Regions from separate parts of the Homo sapiens genome. Here region 2 is linked to region 1. Evidence: promoter capture Hi-C in human tissues and cell types (Jung and others, 2019). All regions are on one chromosome and are shown on one strand. The core of a region is centred on a gene start or on the middle of the fragment in contact, and the rest is flanking DNA. Distances in the headings are between cores, read along the strand shown. Region 1 holds the start of NOL7 (nucleolar protein 7). Region 2 overlaps PHACTR1 (phosphatase and actin regulator 1).

Evidence for each region. The method cuts DNA at HindIII sites, captures the fragments that hold promoters and counts their contacts. A contact is called where the count stands out against the background at its distance.
Region 2: a fragment that was not itself captured here is called in contact with the fragment with the promoter of NOL7 in region 1 in 1 of the 25 tissues and cell types used here (dorsolateral prefrontal cortex).

What each region holds. Positions count from the first base shown.
Region 1 is chr6:13,611,321-13,618,561 of GRCh38, reverse strand. It overlaps NOL7 (nucleolar protein 7), which reads right to left and starts at 3,227. Exons shown (of 8, transcript NM_016167.5): 1 at 2,938-3,227; 2 at 2,790-2,850; 3 at 2,041-2,099; 4 at 761-792; 5 at 423-504. The coding sequence starts at 3,203. It overlaps SIRT5 (sirtuin 5), which reads right to left. Exons shown (of 10, transcript NM_012241.5): 10 at 3,404-6,772. The coding sequence ends at 6,697. It overlaps LOC124901263 (a long non-coding RNA gene), which reads left to right and starts at 3,360. Exons shown (of 2, transcript XR_007059461.1): 1 at 3,360-7,153. RefSeq lists an enhancer at 3,845-4,014. The HindIII fragment of the contact is 29,829 bases long and covers 1-7,241 here.
Region 2 is chr6:12,922,926-12,930,166 of GRCh38, reverse strand. All of the region lies in intron 4 of PHACTR1 (phosphatase and actin regulator 1), which reads right to left. Among named protein-coding and RNA genes, the nearest start is that of PHACTR1, 210 kb to the right of the region's middle. The HindIII fragment of the contact is 6,648 bases long and covers 771-7,241 here.

The DNA.
Region 1 (7,241 bases), core at 1,978-4,477:
TTAAAATATTTTCCCGGCCGGGCGCGGTGGCTCACGCCTGTAATCCCAGCACTTTGGGAGGCCGAGGCGGGTGGATCATGAGGTCAGGAGATCGAGACCATCCTGGCTAACAAGGTGAAACCCCGTCTCTACTAAAAATACAAAAAATTAGCCGGGCGCGGTGGCGGGCGCCTGTAGTCCCAGCTACTCGGGAGGCTGAGGCAGGAGAATGGCGTGAACCCGGGAAGCGGAGCTTGCAGTGAGCCGAGATTGCGCCACTGCAGTCCGCAGTCCGGCCTGGGCGACAGAGCGAGACTCCGTCTCAAAAAAATAAAAAAATAAAAATAAAATAAAATAAAATAAAATATTTTCCCATGTTAGCCAATACTTTAACTCTCTTAAAGGTCTCCTTTACATCCCAAATGAAACAAAAGACTCATTACCTGACAGACTGTACTTTTTGTACTTTAACTTTCTTGGAGTCATTTCCTTTTTCACAGTCTTCATTTTTCTTTTGCAAATTAACTAAAAAATAGAGTTACATTTTCTAATTAGCATTCACGTAAAAATAAATCAGGAAATTTACTGGAGTTCACTTTAAGCATCCACTACACACCAATGTGGATGCAGTTTTTATTTGTATGAAATACAGGGAATAGGCCCCAGCTAACCTTGGCCAGGCCCATGCTGGCTTTCTAAGGGCCATTCATATTTGACTGGAAACATCTGCAAGTGCACTTGACACTTACATGAGAAGTTAGTTAAATTAGAATAGTCATACCTTCTTTCACCTTTCCTGGCGATTTCTTGATGCTAAGGAAAAAAAACAAAACCACTGACTGCAATGGCAGTAAAGATTACTCAAAACATGTTATATTATTTCATTTGCCTTTACAAGTAAGACACCCCCTTTCATTACCAACACCCTCAATTTCTACTCAGGAGCTCTCATCAGTTTGGAAAGCAATAGTCACTCCCTAGTACACTGCCACCAACTCTCAAGCATTGGAAGATCTTCACAGTTAAAATCTGAGAGCCTATTAGCAGGCTTTCAAAGCAGCAAAATGCTGTGGGCAATGGAGTTCAAGTGAAACACTTGTTCAGAACAAGTTATAAAGTATTTGAAATATGAAGTGAATGGGAGTAGGTCTGCCTCATTTCATTTGGAGAAATCACAAAGGATTAATTTAATAGTTTAGGCACAGGAGACAGGGAACAGCCTCAAGGGGGCTGTGGCCCAATGGAGAGAGAAATGTAAATGGACAGAATACAATACAGAAGCATTTGCACAGGAGAAAGGCCACACAAAAGCGGAAGTGATGGGAGGTGGGGGGGGGCAAATGAGAAGGTAAAGGTGACACTTGAGCTTGGTTTTAAAAGATGAAAGGGAATTTGCCACCAAATAGATTTGCTCTTACGTTTAATGTATTCAGGATCTGAGTAACTCTTTGGTAAAGTTTTTTTACTGAAAACTTGAGAGTCACTGGCCTAAGCAAAAGGGGGCTGAATTTCTGAATTTAAAGCCTTAAGGGGAGAAAAAGAGGATAGAAAAAAAAAAATTTAGAAGGCTAAATTTAGTAGGGTTTGATCAATTCCCAAAGACGACTATAGCTTTTCGCTTTAAACCATAAAACACCAAAGATGCTAAATGAAGTGGGGAACAGGAAGGACAGGTTGGTGGCAGGTAAGGCAAGTATGGGACAAATCAAGTTTTCAGAGCCTGTGGATAAGTGCCTGCTACCCCACTAAATGATTCAAAACACTTTTTATTCACCACCACCCACTATGCCCTAGTACAATGACAGGCAGTCAACAAAATGTACTGAATGAACACAATGGGATCAGGAATTCAAAAGCTAGCTATGGGAATGAACAAAAATAAATGGTAAAATAAGAAGTAGAACGTTACCTCCGTCTTTCCCATCAAATTCATATACCAAGGTAGCTTTTGAATTTGGGTTCTACAATTCCTTCAGTTATATGGATTCAAATAAATGTACCAGTATATAATTCAAAGATGGGTGTATATAAGCAAGTAATATAAAAAGATCCATTACTTACTTAGTCTGTGAAGCTGTGGTTAACTTCTCCAAAATAGTGTCTGGAAGGAGTTTTCTTTTCTTTTGGAATGAAAACGTTTAAAATTAATAGAAAGTCATGTACATAGTATGTCCGGAGTTGCTTCTGAAGTTACCGCTTTTAAGAATGCCCTACATCTAGGCAAAGAAATGAATTAGGCTGGAAACTGCCCCCATACCTCTAAGCTATGGGAAGACCGGGTCCACAAAACTCCACATTCTCTGAAAGACTTGATGAAAACTAGAAAGGGTGCCCACGGTATTCTAACCCTCAGGTCACTGTTATAAATTGAAAGCAGTTAAGTAATGTCTGCCTGGAGCCAGCTCTCTGTGTCGAGTATCAGACAGCAAAGCAACCATACACTAAGTCTGTACAGCCCTTACAGTTTACAAATCACCTCATTTAATTCTCACAGCAACCTCTTATTTTCAGTTGGTGGACACTAAAGGAGACGAACTTTTTTTTTTTGAGACAGGGTCTCGCTCTGTCGCCCAGGCTGGAGCGCAGTGGTGTGATCTCGGCTCCAGGCAGCCTCGACATCCCGGGCTCCGCCCACCTCGTCCAACTAAAGTACTGCCGCGCCCGGCCCGAGCATCTTTCCACCACTGTCAGAGGCAATCTTGGTGACTGTTTCCCCACTCCAATATCCTGCCAACCCAAATTACATCCACCATAGGAATTCTCCCTGAGCCGAGTTGTTTTAATAAGACACCTCCTCCCTAGCCTCTAACCTTCTGTTCGATGAACAGCTCCTCGCGTCGCTTCCTCTTCTCCTTCAGGAGCGTTTTATCCCTGGGAGGAAGGGTGATAAGTCAGCAAAGGGAAGGACAAGCGGGACGAGAAAGGGCGGTTCTCCCCGCCGGGCAGCGGGCTCCGAACCTGCGCACGGTCTCCCGCACTCGCCGCTCCTCTTCTCTCGCTTCCGCCTGGGCGCTGGCGAAAGTCAGCTCCTCCGGGGCCTCATCGTCAAACTCATCGTCCCCTTCCTCGTCTTCCTCCAGGGGCTCGGCGGCCGCGCCGCTGCTGGGCTGCCCGAGCAACAGCCCGTGCTCCGCCTCCTCCTCCTCCGAGGCCAGCTGGCCCTCGTCCACCATCGCCTCCGCCGACGCCGGGGCGCGAGACGCTCGCGGTCGGAGCTGCACCATGGCCCACGCAGCGCTAGACCGTCTGACCTCTGACCCGGAAGCAGCTACAAGCGGAGCGCAAGCCTACTTTCATCGCCCCCTGCAGGTTCGGAGGTCCTCAGGACGGGTGGGGCGCATGCGCGAAGGGAGGAAGGGCGTGGCCTGTAGGCAGTGGGCGTGTTTCTTTCCACGTGGCCAGCGCAGGCCGCCTTGGAGCCGGATGGACCCCACGGAAAATGCTCTGCCGGCGAAAGCGGCTGGCAATGGGGTTGATTTCAAGGCAGGGAAGAGCCATCGCGCTGCCCTCCTCGGCTGGGATGGCGAGACAGGGCTGGCACGGCTCACGCTGTCCGGTGCTCAGAAAACCGGTAATCGCGGGCCCGAGGCGCTGCTCGCCGCCGTTTTTTGGCCCTGGGTTCCGTCGAGTGGATCCAGCTTGTCAGTCTTTGTGTAGATTTGGCTGCGTTCGCTCCGCACTTCGGAGGAGGTGGCGTTTCATGGGAAGAAATGCGCTCTAGCAGATGGCCGCCGTGGCCAGTCAGCCCTGCTGCCACCGACGAAGACGCGGGCGACAGACCTGGACTCTAAAGAAATCTGCACAGACGTGCCCGGCGCCCTCGGCCTTCCCAGCTCCGCGGCCGCAGCGACGCCGGTTAGGATGTCGGCCCTGTGGGAGGGGCGCCCTTCCTGGTGCCGGGCCCTAACCCACGACCTGGAACAGCAGCTGGCCCGTGGCAAATGCTGAGCATATCTCCTGAAAGAATGGCTTCGCCGGTCCCTAGAGAATGCACCCGAGTTTTGTGGTATATACACATACGTACTTTTTTTCCAAGTATATTTTATTTCTTGGCAAACATGGCCCTTTGTGATCGCTGTGTTTCTCTCCTCCCATCCATTATACAACACTAAGTGATTCATCATTCTTTGAACAAATCAAACTGTTTCACACCTGCCATGCATTTGTACCGACCGTGCTCTTCCCTCTACTGCCGCAGCCCCCCAGGTAGAAGTCCTTTTTATACTTCAAAAATTCCCACCCAGGCAAATTTCAAGCACCTTACCCCTACCCCATCCCACTCTGCCCATCTCTAATTGCGCTGGTCTGAACCCGCACAAATGTCTGTGTAGTTTCTGCACTTCATAACAGCTTATATGACAGTTGCTCCAGCCATTCTGTGAACCCCTGAGGGGAAGGGCCAGGTCTTGCTAGTCATTTTATTTCTAATGTCTATCATCTGGTAGATGTTTAATAAATGCTAAGTTGAATAATTCTATCTTACACATATATTGTATTTTTAATTCTCTTTTCATGTCTTCTGTTTTAGAAGCAATTCTCAATTTAAAAACGACAAAACCAAATAGGAACAAAAATGATAAAACTTGAAAACAACAACAACAAAAAAAGCTGCTGAACCAGAGGTTCAGTATGAGAGGAATTGCAAAGAACAGTTTTGAAATCTCTAGGCCTTAGTCAGATAGAAATTACAAATCAAAAATATAATCAGACTCCCTGAGACACTAACACTAGGAAAATGAATAAAGTTAACTTGGAGCAGCCCAAGAACAAACTTATAAGTGCATGATGGTATTTTATGTGCAAAACTGCTTTATAAGTACTATAAGACTATTACAGGTATTACCAGTGCCCTCAGTGTAAACTCCTTGGCCCACCCATGTAAAGTGTACATCGAGCCCTCAGGGTCCCTGACTGGTTCTCCAGCCGCCCCATAGGCTATGAGCATCCCCGTTCCCTACACAAAGGACCACTGGGATTTATTAAAGGTTATGCCTTGCAATGCAGTACAAAGTTTTATATGATAGTGTCTTGTTGCCTGTTTCTACAAAAGCCAAGGGTGTAACATTAAATGCAATTTTGCAAGGGGCTGAGGTGATGTGGTCCAAGTATGTAATCACTTCAGGGAGCCATATGTGACCTTCATACACTGTTGATAATGGCCATGCCTCCCAGTCAGGCCTGTGACACCTGCTGGACAGCAGGCATTCCAAGGCCCCTAAGCACTGAGTTAGCTGGTAAAGGTTAAGGAAAAAGCTGTATTCTTACTACTTTACTCCAAGGTAGTAAAGTGTATGGAAGATGTACCTGACAGAAATAACTTAAGCATCCCCTGAGAATGACCCTGTATGGCAGATGCATCTGACAGCAATAACTTAAGAAGTGAGGGTTGCCACGTGGAGGCTGCTGAGGGGAGGGTGCTGAGTGAAAGTGCTATGTAAACTGCATGCTTTTTATAAGTGGTTGCAGTTCTGTCCAGCCCGCGGCCACTGGACCACCCTGTAAGGTTCCCCAAATAAACCCTATGTTTCCTTCACTAGCTCCAGGTCTCTTCTTTGGCCTCTTGAACCTGGTGCCATCCCTACTGAAGTTAACAGAGGTCTGGCCCAACCTAAGGGCATCATTTTTTAAAGTCCCATGGAAAAAACTCCCAGCAGAGTTCAGCATCTGGGAACGGTTGGCAGGCCCCACAGGAACCACAGCTTCTGCCTTTATGATGCTGAGAAACACTTCACTGTTGACTTCCCCCATCTAAGGGGGCCAGAGCTAAATTTTGGGCAGCTGTGTTTATCCTGGGGGTCCACATATTTGCATCATTCTTTCTTCTCATCGTGATGTTCTACCTTGTTGGTACTGTTCTCTTCCTTCTTTGTGTGAGTTCCTGTTGTGAGCTTCCCCTTGTTCACTGAGGTAATGTAGCCAAACAAGGTTAAAAAGCCCCCAGTAAGCCGGGTGCGGTGGCTCATGCCCGTAATCTCAGCACTTTGGGAGGCCGAGGCGGGCAGATCACCTGAGGTCGAGAGTTTAAGACCAGCCTGACCAACATGGAGAAACCCCGTCTCTACTAAAAATACAAAATTAGCTGGGTGTGGTGGTACATACCTGTAATCCCAGCTACTCATGAGGCTGAGGCAGGAGAATCTCTTGAACCCGGGAGGCGGAGGTTGCTGTGAGCTGAGATCGCACCACTGCACTCCAGCCTGGGCAACAAGAGTGAAACTCTGTCTCAAAAAAAAAAAAAAAAAGTCCCTAATAAAGCCATATCGTGGGGTAATGTCTTTATACAATAAATTACCTACTGTAGAGTGTGATTTTATTTTCCACTAAAACTTGTGCAAAAATCAGAATAGTAGGGTTTTTACCCCTTGACTTCTACTTTGCCCAGATAACAAAAATATAATCAGAATAACTATTTTTTTTAGACAATCTAATTTACAAAATTTTTCCCTCCCAATAACCAACCATACACATCAAAGATACCTCACGTTTCAGTTCAAACCAAATAATATGAATTAACTTTCCAGTTCTGTGACTTTTGAATGTGGGTGCTCTTTGCTACTTCTAAACCCCCATCACTTATCAACAGGTTGGATTCCAGCGAGGGAATCAGAGGCTATTTTTAGATTGTTCAGTACTCAGCTCACCACCCATAAGACCATTTCTCCTCTGCGTGTGGCCTAGTTCTTAGATATACTGTAATTTCTTTCTTCCCCAGGACACTTAAGAAACAGTTTCATTTTCATGACAGGCAAGGGCTTCAGGAAGAGTCGTTCCACAGGGTCCCTGGAAATGAAACCTGAAAGAGAAGAAGCAAATACAGCAGTTTTGAACTACAGGTTAGCAAAATGAATGCCCTACTTCAGCAAGCACTTATTTCTGAAGTAATAGCCGAAGTAAAACCCAAATTCTCATAAAGATGGTATTATGAATTTCCATGCCCACTTCTTTCAACTAGCTTCTAACAACTCTAGTTATAACACTTCACTATGGGCTGGGCTCTGTGACTGGGGGAATTTTGAGAAGCAAATGTCTAGAATTTATGTGCCATAAAGAAGAATTTTATTTCAAAGTGTAAGAGACATGATTACAAAGTGTATTCTGTTTGTTTTTTTCAAATCCTGAGAACCTATGCAAGTAAAGTGTATTTTGGGACTGTACTGCCAAACTCATTGAAATTGTAAGTATAAAATATACATGTATGTGTGTTATATATGTATTTTATATACATATATATGTTTTATGTGTATCTATATAACACGTATGTT
Region 2 (7,241 bases), core at 2,845-5,344, 690 kb after region 1:
AAGGCCTGGGTGGGAGAATCGCTTGAGCCAAGGAGGTCAAGGCTGCAGTGTGTCATGATTGCACCAGGTTCACTCCAGCCTGGGTGACAGAGCAAGATCCCCATCTAAAAAAAAAAAAAAAGTTCTTTCTGTTTACAGGCAGTGTTGGGAGATTAACTAAGATACTGCAGTATTTAGGGGATAAAATATTTTATTTTTAAAAAAAGTGGTGCAAAAAAATTCTGTAGACAATAGCTATGCTGGAGTCTCAAAAGACTGTCATTTGCAATAACATCTTAAAACAATGGTTACGCAAGCAGGAAGTGCCATGAAGGCATTCATAGAAAATTAAAATGATTATTTCTGACACGCTTGAATGAAGGAGCAATCTCAGTAGAGGCTGATCAGTTAGAAACTATTCCAAAATATTATCTAGGGATGCTGGGTGCATTTTTCTAAACCAAGGTAACACAGTGAAGAAGTTCCAGGCTTTGGCTGTGAATAAACAGTCCTCAAAAGAGGTGAGATTGGCAGCTATTGAAGTGGTGTGACTGAGGAACAATGAGTCATTTGTTCTTTGCATTTGTCTGTTTCAAGCCTGAGAGTCACCTTGTTGTTGTGTCTTCCTTGGATTAAACCATGGTCCTTCAAGTTCTTCCAATAAAGGGCCAATGCATCATCTGAGGATAACATTTGAGAGCTTATAGTTCCTCTCTCTGGGAAATTTAACCATCACTGCCAATAAATCCACATCAAATTTCTGTGATGAACAGTTTGAAGGACTGGGGTCTCTGGAGTCAGGTGCTCCAAAGCAGAGGACAGAACAGAGATTCGGGTGAACGTGACTTACTAGATAAACGCTCTCGAAGCAAGGGAGTAGGTAGGAGGAGTAGGTTAGGGCAGGAGAAGCGGCTACACCAAGGATGAGATCTTAGCTGGATTCTAGCTGCAGCCTAACCACGTGGGGAAACTCTGAAGCACAAATTGCCTCTCAGAGTTGGTCCCAGCTTTAGGCAAGGGGTCCCTCCTTTTGTTCCTCTGTGCCAGTTGATCATGCATTGGCTGTGAGCCATCCCAGGTGAGGGGGATTGGAGGTAAAGGGTGGAACATGAACTCCGAAATGGAGCTGATCCGGCTTTGCTTAGCATAGTTCTCTAAAGCAGTATTTCTCAAACTTTGCTGCACATTGGAATTGCCTGGAGATCTTTGAAAAAACACCAATGCCTTGCTCCGACACTCAGACATTCTGATTTAAGGAGCTTTTTCCTGAATCACCTCGCTTCCCTCTCTTCTCCTTCGAGACTCATGTATCCTTCCTCAGTGTTACCTTTCTTTAGTCCTGCCTTAGGGGATGAACATAGCACCTTTGCCTGTCTTTGTTATAGACTCAAACACCCTCTATTGAATTTTCCTGTCCACCTATCTGCCTTGCCCAGGGGGCTGGGCTCTCCCTTTGAGAATATGAGTAGAGCTTTAATTTTCTCTCTGTCCTGCCCCCTACCACGATGCCTGCCACATAGGACAACTTCAGGGCTCACCACATGAACGGATGGATGGATGGATGGATGGGTGGGTGGGTGGGTGGATGGACAGATGGAATGAATTGCAATTTTCAAGTAAGTTGCACAGATGCAAATACTCTGTGAACTCGGAAGAGGAAGCAATCCTTCAGGGCTGGAGCAGGCTTTGAGGAAAAGGTAGAAATTAAACCAGGATTCTGAAGATAAAAGAAAGACAAATCCCATCATGCCCTAGTTTCTAGGACTACCTAGAACCCTAGGGGTTAATTTCAAGCCAGTCCCGTTCGTAGGTGGTGGGATGAACGTTGAACGTGCCGGGCATTTTGAGGGGTTTCGTTCAGCAGCCTGCCATAAGGACCAACCGTGGCTTCTAACACACATAGCGAAAACAGCTTTGGAAAGAGATCTTGCCCTTCTCCCATGGTTGTTTGAAGATGATTGCTCATCCTTCAGCAGGCCTTTCTCTCAGGAGGTGTCTGCCGCATCTCCTGTTCTACGTGTTAATGAGCCCTGGGTGAAATTGGGGGGCATGCTGGGACTGGCATGATCACCCTGGGATGATGGATAGCTGTGCTGCCCCTCCTAGTCTGAGTCGACAGAGGGGCTCCATGGCTTATTCAGAGTGGCTATGCCAGAAATTGAATGTGAGCTGACAACCTGGCTGCCATTCAAAACAGGTGAGAGAGAAACAATGCTGGTGGCAGAGCAAGAGACACCCACGGTCAGCAATCGGAGGTGCAGCCCTCTTAACTCTGTGCAGTGCTAACCTGCCGGGAGGATAATTCCTCTTAGACTCTCATGAGACAGCAGGGGCTGAGCTCGCCCTGTTCCTGTGCAGAAAGGTTATGTCTATCTTTTTATAGGTGGACATCAGGATGCCTCTGGGTTTGCTCTTCAGCAGACTGCATTCTATAAAAACACTTTAGATTCTCAAATGGTCCTGAGCCCCAGGCATTGTCATCACGGGCATGTGAATTCTTTTTTGGTGTATGCATGCATGGTACCTATGCTGTTTGCTATAGTGTTTAAGGGCCCAGATTCTGGAATTAAACAGACTTGGATTCAAATCCTGGCCGTGTGACTTTAAGCAAATAACTGAGTTTCCTCAAGCACCAGTTTTATAATCCACAAAATGGGAATACTAATAGTACCTTCTTGATAGGCTTAATGTGGCAACTGAGATGATCCATGCAAAGCACTTAGAGTTGTTCCTACAATATAAGAGATTTTTTTAATGCTTATACAGTATTATTGTTGTTGTTGTTAATCTTCCAAAACTGATCATCTTTGCAAGCCCATGCAAGAAAGTGTGCTAGACATTGAAGATATAAAGACAAAGAAGACCTAGCCCCAAAGAGTTTATAGTCTAGAGAGGCAGATGTCCTCAGGGAGCACTAAACTAAAGTCCCTTTTGAAGTACTGGGTCACCATACTCTATATTGCACCTTTATGTGAATTAGAAAAATAGATGCTCCCTTCTGCCACTCGCCTGGATTTTAGACCCTTGCCCTCTAGGCTAGGTGTCCTTGTTCAGCAAACAATCTGAATAACTGCACATGATGACCCAGGGTGATATGTGCTATGCCAGCAGCATTAGCAAAGTTGTGATTACTGTATTGCTTGCGGAAAAGTGAAATAAATCTTTACAGAGAAGGTGACATCTGAGCTGGATCCTAAGCAATTGACTAGATTTAACTAAGGCTTGCAGGAGCTGGCAGAAATGAGAGCTAAACAAAGGCACAGAGGCATGAAAAGACTTGGTGACTTCAAAGATGAGGCCAGGCAGGACCAGGACCAGCGCATGTAGGGATTAAATGCTGCACAAAAGAGATTGGTCTTTTGTCTGTAAGTACTGTGAGCTCATGATCAGCTCTGCTGGAGCATAGCCTCTGCTAGATATTTGTAAGACGGATTTGTAAACAGAGAATCAGAAGAGAAAGTCACTCTATAAATCCTGTTGGGAGGAATGAGGGTCCATACCAGATTGTGATGGAGAAGCTGCCAAAGCCAGAAATGCTACAAAGGCGGAATCTTCAGGACTTGATGGGCAGCTTTCTATGGGGACAAGGATATGAGTCAGGAGGTTTGGTGAATGTTGATGTTGTGAGACAGGGTGGAGCAGGTGGAGCCTGGACCGTGGACAAGTAACACAAGTTGGGAGAAAAAGGAATTCGAAGTAACTGTAGGGTATCCAAACATAGATATGGATCTAGAATTCATGTGAGGAATCAAGTTATAGATTTGGAAGTCATTGGTTAACAGGGTAGAACTGAAGCCATGGGAATTGACTAGATTCCCCAGAGAGGGTATGTAACCAGAAGAGAAGAGCATCTAAGACAAAAATCTTAGGAAATGTAAACAAAGGGCTGAGAGAAAAGACAAGAGTCAAAGGGAAAAAATGTAAAACCCAAATGGTGGAGAAGATCCAAGAGAGACACTGGAAAGAATGAAGGCATCAATGGTAGCCATAATTCTAGACGAGGAAGAAGTCAGGGCATTGGGCCATTAGCTGCACAGAGTTCTATCTAGTAGTAAGGGGTCTGAGAGGCAGCATTTAGGAGTTCAGAGGGGACATAACCAAAGAAGCTTCAGTAGCAAGGTAAAGGCAAAAGCCACACTGCAGAGGGGATGGCATGTGAATTTAAAGGAAGAACGTGGAAGACGGAATATAGACTATTTTCAGAGATATTAGTGAAGAAAGGAAAAGAGATAGGTGATAATGGCTTGAGGGCCAGGCAGGGTTCATGTTAGGATGGAAAGTGGAGTGGCAGAGTTTGAAGATACACGAGAGACAGGCCCCTGAAATTTTTTTTTCCTATTTCTGCTTTGGGTTGCAGGGAAATGGGAGACTGCTTTTGGGGGAGCAGAGAAATGGGAGCTCCCAGGCCATTTTGTTCTCTGATACTTCATGTTACTCACCTTTGGAGTTGAATTCTGGGCTTTCTGTAATATCAGTGTAAATTGCAAGATGGGAAACTATTTTTAAGTTTTACTAGTGGAATTGCATTTAGTCACCAGCCAAATCCAGGACCTTTGAAATAAGATATGAATTCTGAATAACAAGAGGAATGGGGAAAATGTACCAATATTTATTGCAAATCTGTTAAATCCCACTCTATGGGCTAGAAGTTTTATGCACATCATCTAATATAATCTTCACAATTGCTATATGATATAGAAGGTATTCTCTTAGAACAGTTTCGTACCTTAGAAAGACATTAAGTTATTAAAATTTTATCCAACTTTTTGTGTGTATGTCATATGAAAGAGTGTTCTTAGGTTTAACGAGATGATGAACAGGGTCCAAAATATTAAGACTTGCTGACCTAGATGACCAATATATTCATAACCTAGAGGAAAAAGATGGCAGAAAAAAATTTACTTTGAACCTATAGCTAATATCACAACATAACCATGTTGAATCAACAAGTCAGTTGAGCCCTCAACAGAAAGGTGATAAAGTTGTTGGAGTTGTTGGGAGATGTTTGTTCTTGAAGTTTGCATTGCACATTTCTTATGAGATATTCGATTGTATATAAAATACAAATGACATCTGCTGTGTGTGCATTTTAGCAGCCACTGCCAGGAAAGCATATGCCAAGATAAATAAGAAACTTAGGTGATGGATCTGAATGTGAATCAAAACCAGAAAAACAATCCATGCTGGCATAATGAGCTTCTCACAGATGATTTCTGTCATAAATGGTATGTATTGAGGGGTAATGCTAATGAAATGAGTTGAAAATATGTCTATTTTCATTATGATCATCAATTTGCAATACAAATACGTAAGAAAAACCACTTCTTCATTTTAAAGTTGGGTCCAAATGAGTGTAAGCAACTGCCAAAAATGATTACTTACTATAGTTTAAATTTTTTTTTTTTTTTTTTCCGGGACAGAGTCTCGCTCTGTCGCCCAGGCTGGAGTGCAGTGGTGTGATCTCGGCTCACTGCAAGCTCTGCCTCCTGGGTTCATGCCATTCTCTTACCTCAGCCTCCCGAGTAGCTGGGACTACAGGTGCCTGCCACCCTTGCCCAGCTAATTTTTTGTATTTTTAGTAGAGACAAGGTTTCACCATGTTAGCCAGGATGGTCTCGATCTTCTGACCTTGTGATCCACCCACCTCGGCCTCCCAAAGTGCTGGGATTACAGGCGTGAGCCACCGTGCCCGGCATATAGTTTAAAATTTTAAATCTCATTGTATATCTCATTAAGAGTTCATGGAAATTAGTGCATTGCCAAAAGATGGGCAAATCAGTGTCAATAGAAAATTTAACCAGTTTGGGATGGTTGCTTGTAGAAACACACATAAGACCAATAATAAAGCTTGAATTGTTGTTTGCATTTACTTTAAATAACCTAAATATAATTACAAATTAACACATGTTGGCATATGTATGGACACACACGTTTATCTGTGCCTATATGTAAATATATTTATGTATATATGTATTTACATACATACACATGTATTATCTAGAAACACATAGTCTCAGCAGTTTATAAAGTAGGTCAATTTAGCTTTAAGGGCAAATATTTTATATCATCTAAACTACTGCCTCCAAAACTTACCCCAATACAACAGCAACAAAAAGCACAGTTTGTATTTGGAGATCATGTCTTTCAAGATTGAATTAGTAAATTAAAGTGTTTGATATTCAGTTTACTTTAGAATGTTACCTTATTACCACGAACAGAAGCTCTTCATTATCCAAACCTCCACCTTTATGGTGGTGTTTAGAGAGGCAAACAATCATTGTAATATCAACATGTGACACATGAACCTACTGCTTATAAAATTAGTCATCATCTCTCTCACTTCCTTACACTACTGCCTCTTCAGGCCTATCCTGTCTTTGAAGATCGGTTTCTCATTCGTGTCTAATGTTACCTGACAACACAATTAAAATCAATTGCAAAGGGAAAGAGCAAATCTGGTGAAGAATGCATGGTTTCTTGAAGTTAGTGAAAATGATGGGGGAGAACTGCAAAACTAGTGAATCATGAGCTTCTGAAAGAGATTCATTTGTAACTGAGAAGGAAAAAAAGAATTGGCAAGGATAATGATAAGATAGATGCTTCCATGGAAATAATTTCAATATCAAAGTATTGGTATTAGGAAAATGGAGGGGGTTCTCAAAAAATTTAGCAAATGCGATTCTCTTTTGGATCATGCTGCAGAAGTCATGCATGATGTCAAGGATATTGCATTGTGCTATCATAATATTTGTTGCAAAATTATTTTTAGTGAAAATTATTTTGTGTTCTATAAATTATAGCATGTAATATTTTATCCTAAATTTCATTAGAGGATGACATTAACTTACATAGATTCATTTTTCAAAGTAAATTCTCAATCATACATCTTTTTTACTATTTATTATTAAAGCATAGGTCCTTTGGGATAGATTCATTTCCATGACCTTTGATAAAGACTTGTCAGTCATATCTAGACCCCTGTCTCCTCTCATCTCTTCTAGTTTGGGCACATCCTTAGTCTCCTTTGCATTAACTTTTGAGTTACTGGAAGTCTCTGTAACTATTCCTAGCTGCACAGGCAATAGATTTATGGAGGAAGGCTCTGTTTCGGATTCTATTTTTGTAATCAAAATTGCATGGGGGATTTTTGCAATCAGAATTATGGCAGATTACATATCTCCTGACATAGTGTCTGTAGAAAACATTCAGTAAGTATTTACTAAAGGAATATAGTTCTTTCAATTTACTCCGGGGTCTGATGC